Regions from separate parts of the Homo sapiens genome. Here regions 1, 2, 3 and 5 are each linked to region 4. Evidence: promoter capture Hi-C in 16 types of primary human blood cells and fetal thymus (Javierre and others, 2016). All regions are on one chromosome and are shown on one strand. The core of a region is centred on a gene start or on the middle of the fragment in contact, and the rest is flanking DNA. Distances in the headings are between cores, read along the strand shown.

Region 1 (2,748 bases), core at 233-2,732, 3.9 Mb after region 4:
TACTACCCGAGGTCTCAGATTTCTGAGTGACCTGGTAATTTTTAAATCCTGAGTCTCCTTCATGCCTGTAATCCCAGCACTTTGGGAGGCCGAGGCGGGCGGATCATGAGGTCAGGAGATCGAGACCATCCGGGCCGACACGGTGAAACCCCGTCTCTACTAAAATACAAAAAGAAATTAGCCGGGCGTGGTGGCGGGAGCCTGTAGTCCCAGCTACTCAGGAGGCTGAGGCAGGAGAATGGCGTGAACCTGGGAGGCGTAGCTTGCAGTGAGCCGAGATCGCGCCGCCGCACACCAGCCTGGGCCACAGAGTGAGACTCCGTCTCCAAAAAAAAAAAAAAAAAAAAATCCTGAGCCTCCCATCAGCGATACGTCCTCTGTCCTACACTCAACCCAAATTCCTGACAGTACCTGCCGCCACTCTAAGCCAGGAAGAAGTGACCCATTCATCTCTGCCAAAACCACTCCTGACACCCACTGCTGAGCTCTGTAGCAGGACGCAGCGTGGAGCTTCGAGCTGCTGAGACAGACACAGCTTAAAATATACCTGTCAGTGCAGTGCCTGCAAACACGTAGCAACTCCATGGAGAAAAGGAAAAAGTTCAGATACATACATGTCCCCTTAAGGGTTCTATAGACCAAAAAAAATTATATCCTTAATATTTCAGAAAGTTAAGGCCACAGAAGGTGGTCAGGGAATTTTTACTCTGTGTAGCAATTCTCTGGGTACAGAAGCTGGTAACGCTCACAGGAAGAAGTGCATTAATCCCACAGGGCCAAGCCCAGCGACCACCACTTCCTGCCCCTTTTCTGTACTTTTTAAACCATGGTGGCCTCTAATAACGTCTAACTGAAAACTCTGTACCTGGTTAACTCTTTTTTTTTTTAGACGGAGTCATGCTCTGTCACCCAGGCTGGAGTGCAGTGGTGTGATCTCGGCTCACTGCAACCTCTGCCCGATCAAGCGATTCTTCTGCCTCAGCCTCCTGACAAGTGGGGATTACAGGCGCCCGCCACCACGCCCTGGCTAATTTTTTGTTTAGTAGAGGTGGAGTTTCACCATGTTGGCCGGGCTGGTCTTGAACCCCTGACCTCAGGTGACCACCCCCTCCCAGCCTCCCAAAGTGCTGGGATTACAGGCGTGAGCCACCACACCCAGCTTACGCCTGGTTAACTCTTAATGACCAAAATCAAAGTATGGATGAAAAAGACGAGAATCTGGGAAGTCACATTGCTGAGGTCTGAGAGTCATGACTCCACTGTCACCGGGGAGGCCCAGCAGAGGGCAGCACCTGGATGATGAGACCCAGTTCAGGAGGCGCAGCACAGAGCGGTCACCATCCTTCCCCGGTTCACCGGGAAGCTTGCTCCCCCTCCTTCTGTATTCCTGGCAAATGACAACGGGCAAAGCGAAGCGTGGGCCAAGGACGGAGGAGGCGGTGCCGCGCGTCTGCCGTGGTCACAAGCCACAGAAGTTTGCTTCACTCCTGCCAGAAACCGGCAGGACAGTAGAATTCTCTTTTAAAGCACGTGTTGAACAGAGTGTGTAATAACATGAGATTAAAAAGTTACTGCCAAACGACAAAATATAACTATTAAAATGAAGCTTCCAATGAATATGAAAATCTTTACCAAAAAATAGTTTATTGCACAAAATTTAAGGAATTCCCAAGCACACTTACATTTGTAAAAAATCAACGTGCTTTTTAAAGTTACACTTTGTCAGACACGGTGACCCCTTTCCCAAGAACAGCCACAACTTGAGGACTCTCTTTTGTGAGGAAATTTTTAATAAAAACAAGTAACTCAAAAGCACTGAATTTTCCAGACCCTCTAACACATTTCCCTCCGGATCCTGTGAGAGCCTGAGATCACTTATGACGAGATTCACCTGGACCTTCCGGTCAGTGAGCTCAGAACACCTCACACCACAGCGTCACTCAACTCAAGTCCCTCCTCACATCAGAGGGCTCCTCGAAGGGAGGCCCCAGGACGGTTCTCTCAGATTTGCTGGTCCCTCCCCTCCTAGAATCTTCACGTACAACATTCTGTTTTTGTTTTTAAAGACCTCAGGGAACTAGAACTCGGTTGTGGGAACCCTGCACCAAGGAGAGTTGAGGGCCAGCTCCTTAGCGCAGCACAGCACGGACTGTGTTCTGGTGGGCAGGGCCCCTGCTGGACCCACCCGAGGAGAGTCCATTTCACATCCTATCAGAAACACTGCCTGATCCATATTGCAGAGAGTGGGAACGGGTGTGAGTCCGTAAGACCCGTAGCATCAATCTCACATATACCACGGAAAAACACATGAAAACCAAGTTACGTTGTTTTTGGAACATCAGAAAAACAAGTAGTGACATCGTGAAGTGCCCTAGCCTGTTGTGACACACGGTGTGGGGATGAACACGCCGCCCTAGCCCGTGACACACGGCGTGGGGATGAACACGCCACATAATGCACTGGTGACCCTGTTTTGTAAGCAGTACTCCCAACTTCACTGCCTTTTCCGTGAGGATATTCCATCATTCCCACTTCTGCCCACAAGAACAAAATAATTCAAACTTTATGCACTGAAGTAACTCTGGAAGGTAGAAGTGCCGGGAGAGTCCCTTGGAGATAAAAAAACCTCAACAATAAAAAAAAGCAATTTAAAAATCCAACTGCAGCCGGGGGCGGTGGTTCACGCCTATAATTCCAGCACTTTGGGAGGCTGAGGCTCAGGATCACCTGAGGTCAAGAGTTCAAGAC
Region 2 (2,700 bases), core at 88-2,587, 3.9 Mb before region 4:
GGTTTTTCTAGAGTCTTTTATCAGGCCTGCAAGCACGGGAACCCTCTCTTCATGGCCTTCCCTGGTTCTATTTGTCAGGGTTTATTTATTTATTTATTTACTTACTTAACATCCATGACTTCATTTTGATTCTGACAACTTTCACAACATCATGGGTTGAAAGTAGTAACTTGTGTTTTACTTCCATTTATTTAAATACTTCTAAGAGCCAAGCTTTTCTGTAAGTTTTATTAATGAATCATTTTTCCTCTTCTGTAAATTCATTGCCTGTTGATTGTGATCTATTGATATTTTTGAATTTTTCTTAGTGATTTAAAAAATTATTTCTATAATAAAGATATTAGGCTGGGTGAGGTGGCTCACACCTGTAATCGTAACACTTTGGGAGGCTAAGGCGCGGGGATTGCTTGAGCTCAGGAGTTTGAGACCACCCTGGCTCCTCCTAAATGATTGAAAGGACACAACATAATGGATATGCTGTAATTGATAAAGAGACCTTAAAAAAAGTAAAATCAGGAAGATTACCAAATAATTGGTCTGCTCAAGCTTGCAAGTTATTCGCACTTAGGCCCTAAAATATTTACAGAACCAGGTAGGAACTATCTATACTGACTCTAAATATGCTTTCAGAGTATCTCATACATTTGGAAAAATTTAGGCTGAGCGAGAACTATTTAACAGTAAAGGTAAGGAACTTGCTCATGAAACACTAGTTGTTCATGTTCTTAATAATCTTCAATTACCGGAAGAAATAGCCATTGTCCATGTTCCAGGACACCAACCTAATTTTTCTTTTAAAAGTCAAGGAAACGGCCGGGCGCGGTGACTCACGCCTGTAATCCCAGCACTTTGGGAGGCCGAGGCAGGCGCATCACGAGGTCACGAGATCGAGACCATCCTGGCTAACACGGTGAAACCCCGGCTCTACTAAAAATACAAAAAAATTAGCCGGGCGTGGTGGCGGGCGCCTGTAGTCCCAGCTACTAGGGAGGCTGAGCCAGGAGAATGGCGTGAACCTGGGAGGTGGAGCTTGTAGTGAGCTGAGATCGCGCCACTGCACTCCAGACTGGGCGACAGTGCTAGACTCCCTCTCAAAAAGAGGAAAAAAAAAAAGAAAGAAAGAAAGAAAGAAACTTAACAGAATGCAGTGAGGTCAGGCACTTCCAAGAGCTGACCCATCAGTCAGCCCTTATTCATCCCCGAGTGGGTGTATGGTGGTATTTTGGAGAACCTTTACTGGACACTTTGCCAAATAATTGGAGCGGTACTTGTGCTCTAGTTCAGTTAGCTATCCCTTTTACCCTGGCATTTCATCAACCAGAAAAACAAACAAACAAAAAAACATGACATCGTAAAACAAGAGAAGCCTCTCGTAGGTCCTTTGACCCCCATGTTTATTTAGATACAACTGACGTTCCACGAGGTATATCAGATAAATTCAAAGCTAGAAATCAGAGAGCTGTGAGGTTCAAATCCCTTCTCCCACAAATAACAATTAATAAGAATGTAAATTGGATAAACAATATTTATTACTATCAACAACAATTTATTAACTATACTTAAAGATGCTATTAAAGGAATAGCAGAACAGTTAGGATCCACTACTAAAATGGCTTAGGAAAATAAAATGGCTTTAAATGTAGTATTAGCCGAGAAAGGTGGTGTTTGTGTTATAATTAAAACCCAATGTTGTGTACAACCTTCATCCCAAATAACACGACTCCTAACAGAAGTATAACCAGAACCTTACAAGGTCTCACTGCTTTATCTAAAGAGCTTACTAGAAATTCTAGAATTAATAACCCTATTTCAAATTGGCTAGGACGATGGTTTGGTCAACGGAAGGAAACTATAACCTCAATTCTCACTTCTATTACTACCGTAATAGGTACACTTCTCCTTCTCGGATGTTATACCATGCCTCTGGAAGCTAATGACAAAATTAATAACGACAGTTCTTACCAAAACTACTAAAACCTATCTTAACTCTCCTCCACCTTATTCTAAGAGATTTCTCCTCTTAAAAGCTCAAGTAGAACAATTAAGCCAAAACATGCTAAAACAGTTTAAAAAGGAAAAATTATAAAAATTAAAAGGGAAGGAAATGTAGAAAGCAAAAGTTCCTCTTCAAAGCTTCCCCTTTAAATCATAAATGTTATTAATATCTTTTCTCAGAACTAACTTTCTTCAAATTTCTTATTTTATAGTAATAACTCTCTGTTAAGCCTTAGGTAGCAAATGTAACAGAATAAGCACACTCTGACTTCGGTATCTGTGCTAAACATGCTCACAGGCACGTAGTACATTCTATGTCCTTGTACCTTTGTCAAAATATTCGTGCTGGACGTGCCCAGGCATGTCCCAGCTTGCAGCCTACACTCTTCCTTATTTAGGAATATTATTACTTTTCTAAGTCCTTTCGTAAGGAACATCCTTTTTTCCTATGTTCCTCACTGCTTTTACCTATTTAAAAAATTTTTGAACTGTTAGCTAATCGGGTTTTAGTTTAAATTGTGAGGTCTGGCTGCAGCCAATGAAGTCAAAACACAGCAATAGGGACCTCATGCATAAGGAATAAATATTCTTCAGTTGTATCTGACTTTTAAAAATTAGACGTATCATTTTGATAAAAATCGAATAAGAGAGGAAAGGAAAGAAAAGAAGGGAGAAAAAAATAGAATTCCAAAAGTCCAGAAAGGT
Region 3 (2,700 bases), core at 10-2,509, 3.9 Mb before region 4:
AGTAATAGTAAAACTCCCGTCTCCCACACTGCCAGCTGTGTGTGAATTAAACGTTCTCTATTATGGCAGGGCGAGGTGGCTTGCGCCTGTAATCCCAGCACTTCGGGAGGCTGAGGTGGGCGGATCACAGTTTCCCTGTCCTAATAAATGGGCTCTGTCTAGGCAGCGGGCAAGGAGAAACTGTTGGGCAGTTACAGAAGCATGTAAGTTTTGTGTTAGGCCTGATGACTTCAGAAATTATCTTCAATGATTTTCCCCTAAAACCTTGTTGACATTTAGGGAGAAATAACCTTTCCTGAAGCTCATTAGAAACAAGCTGTCACCAATGCGTCACCACCTAACTGGTGAGTCAGTTCGCAAGTTTCATTTTCTTCATCTCAAAAATGAAAGCTCTAGATCTAGGATTAGACGCTTTTACCATTTAAAACATGAAGTCAAGTCAAATGAAAGAAAGGGGCTGACAGGTGAGGAATTCATTATAATTGCAAAGAACTGTACCACAGAATGCAGCCGAATCCCTTCTTTCATTCTTATTATTATTTAGAGAGCTGGGAACTGGTTAAACTTTAAAAAATATAATTTATTTTTATGTATTTATTTTTGCCTAAAGATCATTCATGCAAGTAAATCAATCTCCCCTCCCCTCCCCTTCCCCTTTCCCTCCCCTTCCCCTTCCTTTCCTTTCCTTTCCTTTCCGAGCCAAGGTCTCCCTTTGTTGCCCAGGCTGCTTTCAAACTCCTGGCCTCAAGCAATTCTCCTGCCTCATGCCTCCCAAAGTGCTGGGATTACAGGCCTGAGCCACCATCTTTTGCTTTCAGTGATAAAACACAGAAACACAGTGGAGGTGAAAGCAACTCCATCTTGGTTGCTAATCCACCAAGATAACTTCCGATTAATGCCTCTTCCAGGAAGGTCTCTAAGATTTCTACTTTACTGTTACCATAAATTCTGCCCTTAGATCAGAACAACCTAGATCATAAATCCTTCCCTTATGCGGATTCACATAACATTCTTGCCTTGCTTGAGGGGTCAACTTCAATTGTCCTACATATATTCCTTCCCTATGGTATGGAAGCCCTGGGCCGGGGGTTATGGCGCAGCAAACCTTATATCCTCTGATGACCACCCTGAGACTATGGCTTCTGTTGGTAAGTCCCTAATAAATGTTTTTTCCTGAGAAACTGGGTTTGTCAACCCCTTTCTTTGGCCTCTCAGCTCCCTTGGCCTTTGGGGTAGGTTTGCATAGGCCTGCTCACCCCGGAACACAGTGTATGAATATAAATGTAAATTGCACTTGCATTACAGCCGTGGAGACGTGTTGCTGAGGAAGCAGAGAGCAAAGCCCCGCTGGGATGTGAGTTTGCTTCTGGGTTCCTCCCATGCAAATGAGGTGGTTCGTGGCAGTGCAGAGGAGGAGTGAGATGGCAAACAGGGGGGCCCAGACCTTCCAGCAACTTACACACTTGCCCTCTGATGGCCAAGAATGCGTCAACAGCCCTCGAGGCCAGTGCAGTACAATCATGGTGGCACGAGATGTGGTGTACACTCCCCAAATGATCATCCTGCTCACTTTTGCTGTGGTTTCAGTCATCAAGTCAGGTTTTGCCTTAACACTTTTCTGCTGATTACTCCCATCAGCCTCTTCTAACTCATGTGCATTTGAAACATTAGAGATTTCAGAATGGGAAGATCACACCTGGTGTGAGAATCTGAGCTCCAAGTAGTGCCTGGAATCACAATGCTTATGATAATCACATCCATGGCACTTTAATGATAAAGAACCACGGACCAAAACGAATACAGAAAGCAACAAAACTACAATGGAGATGCCGGGGATCGAACCCGGGGCCTCATACATGCAAAGCATGCGCTCTACCACTGAGCTACATCCCCCTCCCTTTCCTGTACTTGCTTTTGGAAGTCCTTGCTATACTCTATTCTTAAAGGCGTTTTTCCTGTTTCCACGTGTTTCATTTTTATTTTTGGTTTTTATTATTGTTTGGACGCATAACAATTGTGCACATTTATGAGGTGTGGTGTGATGTTGTGATCTATGTACACAATTTGTAATGTTCAAATCAGGGCAATGACCACATCCATCCCTTCAAACATGTATCATTTCTCTGTGCTGGGAGACATTAAAAATCCACGCTTCCAGCTATTTGAAAACGTACAATAAGTTGTTGTATTCACTCTATAGGGACACTGGAACTTATTCCTCCTATTCAGCTGTACTTTTGTATCCAGTAACCCCCCTTTGGCTATCCCACCTCCCCCCACCTTCACTACCTGCAGTAACCACTATTCTCTCTGTGAGACCAACTATTTCAGCTTCCGCACGTGAGTGAGATCATGCAGTATTTATCTTTCTGTGCCCGGTTTATTTCACTTTATGTAATGTCGCCCAAACTTAGCCATGTTTTTATTTTTGTTTCGTAGAGGAAAAATGACAGGATTTCATTTTGTTTTGTATTTTTTTAAGGTCGAATAGTATTCTATTGCGTATGTACACATTTTCTCTATCCATGTATCTGTTGACGGACACATCTAGGCACTTATGAATAAAGCTGCAATACACACGGGAGTGCGAGAGGCTTTTAGTTTTTGGTTGGTTGGTTTGTTTTGAGACAGAGTTTTGCTCTGTCGCCCAGGCTGGAGTGCAGTGGCATGATCTGGGCTCACTGCAACCTCCGCCTCCTG
Region 4 (2,758 bases), core at 117-2,616:
CAGGCTGGAGGAGTGGAGTGGCGCGATCTCGGCTCATCGCACCTCTGCCTCCCGGGTGCAAGCGATTCTCCTGCCTCAGCCTCCCGACTAGCTGAGAGAACAGGTGCCCGCCACCACGCTCGGCTAATTTTTGTATTTTTAGCCAGGCTGGTCAGGCTGGTCTCGAACTCCTGACCTTAGGTGATCCACCCACCTCGGCCTCCCAAAGTGTTGGGATTACAGGCGTGAGCCACTGCGCTCAGCGTATTTTTTAAATTTTATTTATTTATTTTTTTGAGGTGGGGTCTCACTCTGTTACCCAAGCTAGAGTGCACTGGTGTGACCCTAGCTCACTGCAGCCTCCGAAACTCGTAGGCTCAAGGAATCCTCCTTTCTCTGCTAGGACTACAGGTGTGCGCCTCCACGGAGGGCAAATTTTTAAATTTTGGTAGAGATGAGGTCTCACTGTGTTGCCCAACCTGGTCTCAAAGTCCTGGGCTCAAGAGATCCTCCCGCCTCGGCCTCCCAAAGTGCTGGAATTACAGGCGTGAGCCACCGCGCCCGGCCTCTCTTTTCTTTAAAGCCACTGTGGCCATCACTGTGTGTGTAGACCTCACCCCGCCCCAGGCAAACCCCTTCCAGCACCCATCACACCGGTACCTCCAGTCTTGGCCCACCTGCTGGCGGGATTCCTCGGCACTAGACAGAAGCCCCCCGGGGCAAGGGGCTCCCTCCGCGGTCAGAGGCAGGGACTGGGGCAGGGGAAGAGGCTGGGGCTGGGCAGGGGCTGGACAGGGACAGGGACAGCGCGCGGGGGCGCGGCTCACCTGGTCGGCGCCGAAGGGCGTGATGTTGGCCTTGACGGTGGCCACGCCCAGGCCCACCAGCACCAGCCCCGCGAAGGTGGCCGGTGAGCAGCAGCGGGCGGCGGCGTCGGGACCAGGCGCCGTGCAGTTGAGCAGGCGCGCGGAACCGCAGAGCGCGGCTCGCGTGGCGGGCGCGGCCAGCAGCGGGAAGGCCAGCATGCCCAGCAGGTAGAGCGCCAGGCTCAGCAGGATGGCGCGCGCCCGGCCCAGCCGCGCGTCGGCCAGCCAGCCTCCGAACGGCGAGCCCAGGTAGGTGAGGCCCATGAAGAGCAGCAGCGCCTCGCTGGCCTGCGCGCCCTCCCAGCAGAACGGCGCCCCGTTCAGGAATAGCACCAGGTTGGACGTGATGCCGTAGAAAGCGGCGCGCTCCAGCAGCTCCGTCAGCAGCACGGCCCCGCACGCCGCGCGCCGGCCCGCGAACGCCCCAGCCGCCGCCGCGGCCGCCGCCGCCCGCCGCGCGCCCAGCAGCGGCGCCCGCTCGCCCGCACCGCCCCCAGAGCCCTCCATGCGACGCCGCCAGCTGCCTCGCCCCGCCGCCGGGTCACCTGTCCCAGAACCCAGGGCCGCCGCCCTTCTCGCGAGACTGCCGGGCCTGAGATGTCCCTATTGGGCGGGCTCGCCGCTGCTCAACGCCCCACTCGCCGGAACTTCCGGCCCCGCCCCGGGCACTAGGCGAGGAGGTGGCCGGTATTCTGGATCACTGCGTGTCTTGGGGAGCTTGGGATTCCGCAGCTTGGCGGCCGAGAGCCTTTGTTTGCCTTTTTGAGACAGGGTTTCCCTCTCTCGCCCAGGCTGGAGCGCAGTCATGCGGTTACGCCTCACTGCAGCCTCAGCTTCCCAGGATCAAGCGGCCCTCCCACCTCAGCCTCCCGGGTAGCTGGGACCGCAGGCGCTCGCCGCTGCCTGTGGCTAATTTTTAAACAGTTTTTTGAAATGGGGTCTCGCTTTGTTGCTCAGGTTGGTCTCGAACTCCTGGCATCAAGCGTTCCTCACGTCTCAGCCTCCCATAGTGTTGGAATTACGTGCATGAGCCACTGCAGGCAGTCGGACTAAGGGAGTTTAAACAAAGAAGCCGGAGCCTGGCCCTCTTCGGGCTTCGGTGGGGCCCAGTAGGCAGCCAAAACTCACACTGAGACGGCGGCTGCTCTCCAGGCGGGTTTGCTCAGGCTGCCCCCGTGCTCCCTGCCCTGGGCTTCAGTCCTGGAGAGGACCCGGTTTCTCAACCCGTGCATCGTTGGCACTTTGAGCGACGGGACTGTCCTGTGCGTTGCACGATGTTCAGCAGCAGCTTTGGCCTCTGCTATCCACTAGGGGCCAGTTCCACCCCCTAGCACCTCAGGTTAACAACCGAAAATGTCTTCTAGACTTTGCCGAAGGACTCCTGGGGGCAAATACGCCCCCATTGAGACTCACTGGCTTAGAACAAGGCAAGCTCCAGCCTGTTTCAGGCTTTCCCAGAGACTGCCCCTACACCATCTATGGTTGCATGGCTGGCTTCTCATCCTTCAACCTTCCACCGAAGTGTTGACTTCAGAGAAACATTTTTTTCACTAGCCTGTCCAAGGCCCGAGTATCCCATTCCATCATGTTACTCTTTTCTCCTTATTACCTGTTACATTTTTTAATTTATTCGTTTATCTCCCCAACCTGCATGTGTTAACAGGTGTAAGCTTCCTGATGGCAGGATTCTCTTGTGTTTTGTTCCTCACTGTGCCCCCTGCCTCTGGGACAGCGCCTGGCACATAGTGGAGTGAAAGAGTGCCGCCCAAAAATGGCCCTCAGCATGGCTTCAGAAATTGAGACCCCGGCCTGGGATGGTGGCTCACGTCTACAATCCCAGCACTTTGGGAGGCCGAGGCGGACGGATCACGAGGTCAAGAGATCGATACCATCCTGGCCAACATGGTGAAACC
Region 5 (2,700 bases), core at 188-2,687, 3.8 Mb before region 4:
TACTACAGGTTAAATATCCCTTTCCAGAAATGCTAGGAACCAGACCTGTTTTAGCTTTAGGAACATCTGTATTCTATTCACTGGTTGAGCATCCCTAATCTAAAAATTTGAAATCTGGAATGCTCCAATGAGCATTTCCTTAAGTGTCATGTTGACACTCAAAAACTTTTGAATTTTGGAGTATTTTGGATTAAGGCTGCTCAACGTGTGCTACTGGTCCCATTCTGCAGATGTGAAAACGAAGGCACAGAGATGTTAGGGGATCTGCCTCAACTCCCAGCCTGTCTGTGGAACTTTTTTTTTTTTTTTTTTTTTTTTGAGATGGAGTCTCGCTCTCTCACCCAGGCTAGAGTACAGTGGTGCGATCTTGGCTCACTGCAACCTCCGTATCCTGGGTTCAAGCCATTCTCCTGCCTCAGCCTCCCAAGTAGCTGGGACTACAGGTGCCCACCACCACGCCTCCTCTGCTCTAAATGCTCCCATGGCTGCCCTCTCCCGTAGAGAAAAAGCCCCAGTCCTCGCCAAGACTGCAGTCCAGGCCCGACCTGCCCTGGCCCCCTGTTTTTTCTCTCATCTCCAGGCAGCCACTCAGGTCTCCTTCAGATCTTGACTCTAACAGAGTGATGTCTTCTCCAGCAACTCTATGGGATGCTGCAACCCACCCAATGGCCTCTTCTGTTTTATCTGCTCACTATAGCCGCATAAATTTCTATATGTTTATTCTTTGCCTGTCTCCTCCTATACAGCAGGTAAACTCAGGGATTTTCTAAAAATCTCCCTTTCTGCTATGTCTCCAGTGCCTAGAATAGTGCCTGGCATGTAATAAGGGCTACTCCTAAAAAGGGGTCTGAGAGAAATGTCAGCCAGCCTGGAGCTGAGCAGACAAGACTGGGCTGAAAATACACATTTGGGGGTCGCTGGAGATTATAAAGAGATTATAATCGAAGTCATGGGAAGGGATGGAACTACTCCTGTTTTTTTTGCCAAATTCTCCATGTTACTATTTGAGGGCGAGAGAAATCCCGGGTATTCCATATACACTGTTAAAACTAGGCTGTCACTAAGCCCCTCTCCTTTGGATCATCTGGAATGGGGGGACCCATTCCCCCATTCCAGATGATCCATCCCACCCCTCTGGGATCCCCACCCGAGAGTCCTGAAGGCAGGGCACAGGCCGCCCTGGGAAATCTCCGAAATCCAGCCCCGGTCCGGGGATGTCTTACCCTCCAGTTCCAGCTGCACGGGGGGCGGCTCGGGGGGGCCCTTCGAGGGTCCGGGGCCCGCCTGCTGGCGCCCCTTGATGTTGTAGCGCCGGCGCAGCTTCCCCATGGCGACTAGGCCAGGGTGGGCGCTCCAGCGGCCGGACCAGCAGAGCAATCCGAAACCCAGCCCACGTGGGTTCCCAGACCACCAACTCCGGCCGTGAGACTTCCGGGTTGTGTTATCGCGAGAACTGTAACTGACTTTGCCGCTGAGGGGCGGGGTTGCAAGAGAAACCCAGCGAAGAGGAGAGGCGGAGCCGGGCCGGGCAGGGGGCGGGACTATTTAGAGAAGTAGGCGGGGCCTGAGGTCCCAGCGGAGGCCGGAGTTTAAGTCCTGGGCTGTTCTCGCTTGGGGTAGTCTGGGTTTAAATATGAATTATATCTACTGATACTAATTTGGCTTCTTGGGAGTGGAAGTGTTTTGCCACCTTTTAAAATATACCCCGCCCCCAGTACTCCAAACTTCTTCCCCCCAACCCTGGTTTGCGCATCTGTATTTTCTGATATTCCTACAAGAAACGTATTAGTCGTGTACTTTTAAAAAGGCACCAAATATTTCCATCACAGGGATAGATGGAAGATCTAAAAGGAGGCCTCTACGGGCGCGGTGGCTCACGCCTGTAATCCCAGCACTTTTGGAGGCCGAGGCGGGCGGATCACGAGGTCAGGATTTCAAGACCAGCCTGGCCAAGATGGTGAAACCCCCGTCTCTACCAAAAATACAAAAAAAATTTAGCTAGGCCTGGTGGCAGGCGTCTGTAATCCCAGCTACTTGGGAGGCTGAGGCAGAGAATTGATTGAACCCGGGAGGTGGACGTTGCAGTGAGCCGAGACTGCACCACTGCACTTCAGCCTGGGCAACAGAGCTAGACTCTGTCTCAAAAAAAAAAAAATAAAGTTGTCTATTACATAACTTTAAATTCCCATTACCGCATCACATTGTAACACACTGGGAAACAATGCATTATTATTATTATTGAGACAAGGTCTGGCTTTGTTGCCCAGGCTGGAGTGTAGTGGAGCAATCTCGGCTCACTGCAACCTCTGCCTCCCGGGTTTAAACGATTCTCCTGCCTCAGCCTTCCGAGTAGCTGGGACTACAGGTGCCCGCCACCACCCCCAGCTAGTTTTTGTATTTTAGTAGAGACGGAGTTTCACCATGTTGGCCAGGCTGGTCTCAAACTCCTGACCTCGTGATCTGCCTGCCTGGGCCTCCCAAAGTGCTGGGATTACAGGCATGAGCCACCGCGCCCGACTTTTTTTTTTTTTTTTTTAAGAGATGAGATCTCGCCCTGTGGGCCAGGCCAGAGTGCAGTGGTGCAATCACCACTCGCTGCAGCCTTGACCTGTCCTCCCACCTCAGCCTCCTGAGTAGTTATGACTACAGGCACACACCACCACGACGGGCTAATTTTTCTATTTTTTTGTAGAGATGGTG

What was found. The method cuts DNA at HindIII sites, captures the fragments that hold promoters and counts their contacts. A CHiCAGO score of 5 or more calls a contact.
Region 1: a fragment that was not itself captured here is called in contact with the fragment with the promoter of SLC15A4 in region 4 in 1 of 17 cell types (neutrophils); the score reaches 5.7 in neutrophils.
Region 2: a contact is called between a fragment that was not itself captured here and the fragment with the promoter of SLC15A4 in region 4, in 1 of 17 cell types (neutrophils). The highest score is 6.6, in neutrophils.
Region 3: a fragment that was not itself captured here is called in contact with the fragment with the promoter of SLC15A4 in region 4 in 1 of 17 cell types (neutrophils); the score reaches 14.9 in neutrophils.
Region 5: the fragment with the promoter of DHX37 here is called in contact with the fragment with the promoter of SLC15A4 in region 4 in 1 of 17 cell types (naive CD8 T cells); the score reaches 8.2 in naive CD8 T cells.

The regions. Positions count from the first base shown.
Region 1 is chr12:132,767,289-132,770,036 of GRCh38, forward strand. GOLGA3 (golgin A3) reads right to left here. Exons shown (of 24, transcript NM_001389683.1): 24 at 1,626-2,748. Among named protein-coding and RNA genes, the nearest start is that of ANKLE2, 6.8 kb to the left of the region's middle. RefSeq lists enhancers at 575-624, 735-784, 2,253-2,422 and a cis regulatory region at 2,338. The HindIII fragment of the contact is 243 bases long and covers 1,362-1,604 here.
Region 2 is chr12:124,936,385-124,939,084 of GRCh38, forward strand. No RefSeq gene overlaps it. Among named protein-coding and RNA genes, the nearest start is that of TRD-GTC2-10, 2.0 kb to the right of the region's middle. RefSeq lists enhancers at 1,639-2,700, 2,327-2,596. The HindIII fragment of the contact is 1,587 bases long and covers 545-2,131 here.
Region 3 is chr12:124,919,934-124,922,633 of GRCh38, forward strand. TRA-TGC3-2 (tRNA-Ala (anticodon TGC) 3-2) reads right to left here and starts at 1,893; the gene lies at 1,822-1,893. RefSeq lists enhancers at 1,099-1,288, 1,124-1,802, 1,369-1,688 and a cis regulatory region at 1,344-1,514. The HindIII fragment of the contact is 6,001 bases long and covers 1-2,700 here.
Region 4 is chr12:128,822,592-128,825,349 of GRCh38, forward strand. It overlaps SLC15A4 (solute carrier family 15 member 4), which reads right to left and starts at 1,367. Exons shown (of 8, transcript NM_145648.4): 1 at 807-1,367. The coding sequence starts at 1,352. It overlaps LOC124903083 (a long non-coding RNA gene), which reads left to right and starts at 1,353. Exons shown (of 2, transcript XR_007063602.1): 1 at 1,353-2,758. RefSeq lists an enhancer at 1,118-1,277. The HindIII fragment of the contact is 5,029 bases long and covers 1-2,513 here.
Region 5 is chr12:124,987,694-124,990,393 of GRCh38, forward strand. It overlaps DHX37 (DEAH-box helicase 37), which reads right to left and starts at 1,438. Exons shown (of 27, transcript NM_032656.4): 1 at 1,224-1,438. The coding sequence starts at 1,329. RefSeq lists a silencer at 1,142-1,351. The HindIII fragment of the contact is 16,586 bases long and covers 1-2,700 here.